Linked DNA regions of Homo sapiens: region 2 is linked to region 1. The links are contacts of gene promoters, found by promoter capture Hi-C in human tissues and cell types (Jung and others, 2019). All regions are on one chromosome and are shown on one strand. The core of a region is centred on a gene start or on the middle of the fragment in contact, and the rest is flanking DNA. Distances in the headings are between cores, read along the strand shown. Region 1 holds the start of POU3F3 (POU class 3 homeobox 3). Region 2 overlaps LOC105373525 (a long non-coding RNA gene).

Region 1 (2,700 bases), core at 110-2,609:
CCCCACCCCACCCCACCCCCGCTTCTCTCGCCTACCGGGTGCACTCCCCCTCCCATCCCCCTTAACTCTTTCAGCTGGGTTAGAGCTGAGAAAGCATTTGTCGCCGCCAGCCCCATCCACCACGCAAATCCATCTGAGACAGAAAGGAAAGAAAAAAAAGCACCACCATGCCTAAGAATAGAGAGCGAGCAAACCCCCCCACCGCTAATCACACACACACACACACACACACACACACACACACACGAGGAAGCGGTGGAGCAGAGAAGGGCGCGGCTAGCCGATCCCGGTTCTTTCGCCCGGCTCCTGCTGCCACAGGGAATTCCTAAAGCCATTGGGGTCGAATACACTTACGATGAATCTATGGGGGAAGGTCGGACTGATTGCTTTTCAAATACATCGCACGGCTCCGCTGACCGGCACCCTCCAAACTCACAAGGGCACGCACGCTACTTGCACGAATCCCAGAGGAGGGAGGAGGGAGGAAGGGAGGGAGAGCGAAGGAGGGAGAGAGGGGGTGGAGGAGCCAGGGAGCGGCGGCAGCGAGCGGTCCGTCTCGCACGCGCGGGCACCGCGCTGGTCCTGGGCTGCAGGTTTCCCAGATGATGGCATCCGAGAACTTAAACAAAGGGGGCTGCCGCCGGCGCGCAACGGCTGCGGAAAGTTGCGGTGGCGGATTTCCAAGGAGCGTGGCCACGACCAGAGCTCTTGGCGATGCGAGCCCCCGCTTCCCACCCCCGCCGATCAGAGAAGGGGGCCGGCTGGTGAAGGGAAGAGGAAACTTTGAAACCACTGGGGACACATCTGTCTATAGGTATTAGCTTGAATGGTACATCCGTGCCGCGCGCTTTACAAATCTCTGGCGGGGCGGGGGTAAGGGGGTGAGCAACCCGACGCGTACTAGGTGGGGTGGGCAGGTTGCTATTTTTCATGTTTCCCCCTTCGTTTTCCTTCTGATTCTCTTCCCCCCTCTCGTCCCTCCCTCCCTTTTATCTCCCCTTTCTTCCCCCCGCCCAGACCTATTGCGAACGCCCAGAGCCGCCGAGGGAACGCCAACGTCTGGGCCGGACACTAAGAGTTAAGATGTGGCGGAGGGGGCGGCGGGGGAGGGGCGGGGAGGGGAAAGTGGTGAGGGGGAGGGAGGCTGGAGGACGACAGATTTCCAGCTTCTACGACGCTCTGCCTAAATTAAAAAGCAACCAATCGGAACGGCCGGAAGGGGGGCCTCGCGTCCTGAGCCAGTCATTCCGAGCCTGCCAATCACCCAGCGGGTAGCCAATCAGCGGGGGCCCTGGTGCTCGACTTCCTTGTATTTGGGAAAGTGTGGTGGTGGGTGCGCGCTCGCGGCGGAGGGTAAACATTCGACAGTCCCCGCTCTGAGAGGGAGGGACAGAGAGCGAACTGTCAGATCGGAGCGAGAGCGGGCGCCCGAGAGAGGGAGAGAGAGAGAGGGAGGGAGAGGAAAAGTGAGAGAGGGAAAGAGAGCGCGAACGAGGGCGCAGAGCGAGCTCCTGCTGCAACTCTGCTCCAGCACGGCCAGCGCCAGCGCCCGCCGTCGGTGCACTCTACGAGCCGTGCAGCGTGCCCACTGGAGTTGTTGTGTATCAAGGATCGATCCCCTATATGCACACACACACCTCCACCTCCACCAATGCACTCTTCTTCCTCCTCCTTCTCCAGACAACTGCTGGGAAAAAAATAAAACACCAACCCCAACCGTCAGCAACAAGGTAACAGAGCGATTCGACATCATTTTTTTTCCTGTTCAATTTTTTCCTTGTTATATTTGTTTCCTAATTTCTGCCCAAAAGGAAAGATGTCGCATCAGACTGTGACTGTTGCGAGGAGAATGAAAAAGGACTCTTGTTTCAGAGGCAACCAAGAGCTCCGGCAATAGCAACTTCAGAGAAATGCACCATCGCAAGAAGTTTTCCTAGGACAGAACAAAACTTGAAACGAGAGGACCAGAGGGGGAGAGCAGGAGCCAGCCTCCCCTCTCCGCACTCGCGAGCAGCCAGCAGCACCACGCCTTCAAGGACGAAAAAGTTTTACTACTCTAAGGGAAAACGAGTGAAATGTGTTCCTGAGGAGGAGAGGAGAGGAGAGGAGAGAGCGGACAAGAGAAGGAGCGGGCCGGTTGCTGGTCATCCGTAATTTGGCTAAGGAAGAAAGGAGCAGCTTCTTTCTTTGTTATCTCCCGTGAAACCTTCACTTAGCAGGTGGACGGAGCCCCGCGACCGGGCAGAGTCCGGGCTCGCCCGAGGACAGGAGGAGGAGCGGGAGCCCGCGCGTCCCGGGAGAGCGCCCCGAGTGCAGGTCCCCGCCCCGCCCGGCGAGCCCCGCTGGAGCGAGCCCAGCGCGCCGGGGCTGGGGGGCGGCCACGACCCCCCCTGAAGGGGGTGGCCACGGAGCGCACCCCGAGAAGCGAGCCCCCCTCCCCAGAGCGCTGCTCCTGCGGCTGCTGCTGCTGCTGGTGACCAAGGCCGGCCGGCGACCCCCGCGCCCTGCCGAGCGGCCTTGCAGCTGCAGCCGGGGGCCGCGGCGGCGGCGGCGGCGGCGGGGGCGGAGGCGGCGGCGGAGGAGGAGGCGGCGAAGGCGGCGGGGCCGGCGGGGGCCCGGGGCGGGGGCGGGGAAGGAGGGGGGGAGGAGGCGGGAGGCGGGGGGCGCGGCGGCGGCGGCGGCGGCGGCGGCCGCGGCTGC
Region 2 (2,700 bases), core at 194-2,693, 240 kb before region 1:
GGGAGACTTTAACACCCTCCTGTCAATATTAGACAGATCAACAAGACAGAAGGTTAACAAGGCTATCCAGGACTTGAAAAATACAAGAAACTGAAATAAAAAATATATAGCAAGATTTATAGAATAAAGGTAAAGTACTTTTCAAAAGGAAATTTATAGAAGAAATAAAACTGTCTCTATATGCAGAAACATGGTTGCCTATGTAGACTACCCCAAGGAATCCACCCTCAAAAAACTTCTAGAACTAATAAGTGAACTAAGCTTGGTCACAGAATACAAGATAAATACACAAAAATCAATTGTATTTTCATCCACTAGGAAAGATATAGTGTCTCAAATCAACAATTCAACTCCTCACTTCAAGAACCTTGGAAAAAGAGAGCAAAATAAATCCAAAGCAAGCAGTAGGAAGAAAAAATAAAGATTAAAGCAGAAATCAATGAGACTGAAAACAGAAAAACAATAAAATGAATCAATGAAACAAAGAGCTGGTTAATTGAAAAGATCAATACAATCAATCTTCTAACAAGACTGACAAAAACAAAGAGAGAAGGTACAAATTACTAGCATTAAGAATAAAATGTGATATCACTACAGAGACTGCCATGTAAAAAGGATAATGTGGGAACAGTAAGAAAAACTGTACATACGTAAATTTGACAACTTAGATGAAATAGAACAGTTCTTCAAAAATTACATATTATCACAACTTGCCTATATAAAATACATAATTTTAAAAACTTTACAATTTTCAAGAAAATTAAATTTGTATGTTAAATTCTGTAAAAAGTAATCTCTAGGCCCAGATGGTTTCACTGGGGATTTTGTTTCAAATATTTAAGGAATTAACACTGGGCACAGTGGCTCACGCCTATAATCCCGACAATTTGGGTGGCCAAGATAGGAGGATCACTTGAACCCAGGAGTTCGAGACCAGCCTGGGCAACATAGTGAGACTCCCATCTCTATAAAAAAAAAAAAAAAAGTTTTTAAAATGCCAGGCATGGTGGTGCCCACCTGGGAGGTTGAGATGGGAGGATCACTTGAGCCCGGGAGATTGAGGCTGCAGGGAGACATTGCATTCCAGCCTGGGCAATAAAGTAAGGCCCTATCTCAAAAAAAAAAAAAAAAAAAAAAGATGACTATTGATTTTGCACAATTTCTTCCAGAAAATAGAATTTGAGAAAATGCTTCCTAATTCACTTTATGAAACTAATATTACTCTGATAACAAATCCAGATAAAGACAGTACCAAAAAAAGACAAAACAAAAAATTATAGACCACTATTCCTTATGAATGTAGATGCAGAAGTTCTTAATAAAATATTAACAAATAATTAACAAACAAAATATTAACTAATCTTAACAAATATTAACAAAACAATATTTGTTAATATTGTAAAAGGCAATTAAGTGGGTTTATTCCAGGGATGCAAGACTGGTTTAGTATTTGAATATTAATCAGTGTAGTCTACCATATATTAACAGGGTAAAGAAGAAAAAACACATGATCACACCAATTAATGTAGAAAAAAATATTCAACAAAATTGAATATCCACCTGTGATAAAATCTCTCAGAAAAAAATAGAAATAGATGAGGATTTCCTAAGCCAAGTAAAAAGCATCTACAAAATATATATGGTTAACATTATACGTAAAGGTGAAAGACTGAATTATTTTGGCAAAGACTGGAAACACAGCAAGGATGTGTCTAACCATTGCTATTGAACATAATGTTGAAAGATCTCAACAGTACAGTATGGCATGAAAAGGAAATAATAGGCATATTGATCAGAAAAGAAGAAATAAAACTGTCTCTATATGTAGAAACATGGTTGCCTATGTAGACTACCCCAAGGAATCCACCCTCAGAAAACTTCTAGAACTAATAAGTGAACTAAGCTTGGTCACAGAATACAAGATAAATACACAAAAATCAATTATATTTTAATCCACTAGTAATAAATACTAAAAATAGAAGTTAAAAATGTAAGACCATTAGTGATTACTTAAAATGAAGTACTTAGGTATAAACCTAACGAAACATGTATAGATCTTGCATGCTGAAAACTGCAAATGCTGATGATGGAAAACAAAGATCTGCATAAAATGGAGAGATATACTTAGTTCACGGATTGGAAGACTGAACCAGGTGAAGGTATCAATTCTTTCCAAATTGATACACAGCCATAATAGTTGGATAGGGCTGCCAAAACAAAACACCACAGGCTGGATAGCTTAAACCATAGAAATTTAATTTCTCAGAGTTTTGAAGGCTAAAAATTCAAGATCAAGGAGCCAGCAGGATTGAATTCCTCTGACACCTCTCACCTTGGTTTGCAGATGGCCACCCTCTTCCTGCCTTTTCCCGTGGTCATTCATTTATTTGTGTTCATCCTTGACGTCTCTTCCTCTTATGAATGGATCAGTCCGATTAGGGTCCCACCCTAACAGCATCATTTTAACTTAATTGCCCCTTTAAAGATCTTATCTCAAAGTATGATTACATTATCTTAAAGTATGATTACATTCTGAGGTACTAGGGGATCATAGACTTAAATGTCACATGTAAAAATATAAAACTTTTAGAAAAAAGATAAGAGGAAATCTTTAGGATCCAGGACTAGGCAAAATGTTCTTGGACTTGACACCAAAAGCACAAGCTAAGAAAGAAAAATTGGAAAAATTGGATTTCATCA

The links. The method cuts DNA at HindIII sites, captures the fragments that hold promoters and counts their contacts. A contact is called where the count stands out against the background at its distance.
Region 2: a fragment that was not itself captured here is called in contact with the fragment with the promoter of POU3F3 in region 1 in 2 of the 25 tissues and cell types used here (adrenal gland and dorsolateral prefrontal cortex).

The regions. Positions count from the first base shown.
Region 1 is chr2:104,852,756-104,855,455 of GRCh38, forward strand. It overlaps POU3F3 (POU class 3 homeobox 3), which reads left to right and starts at 1,360. Exons shown (of 1, transcript NM_006236.3): 1 at 1,360-2,700. It also overlaps a transcript of PANTR1 not described here. RefSeq lists an enhancer at 964-1,553. The HindIII fragment of the contact is 12,067 bases long and covers 1-2,700 here.
Region 2 is chr2:104,609,854-104,612,553 of GRCh38, forward strand. All of the region lies in intron 2 of LOC105373525 (a long non-coding RNA gene), which reads left to right. Among named protein-coding and RNA genes, the nearest start is that of LINC01103, 100 kb to the left of the region's middle. The HindIII fragment of the contact is 3,262 bases long and covers 1-2,700 here.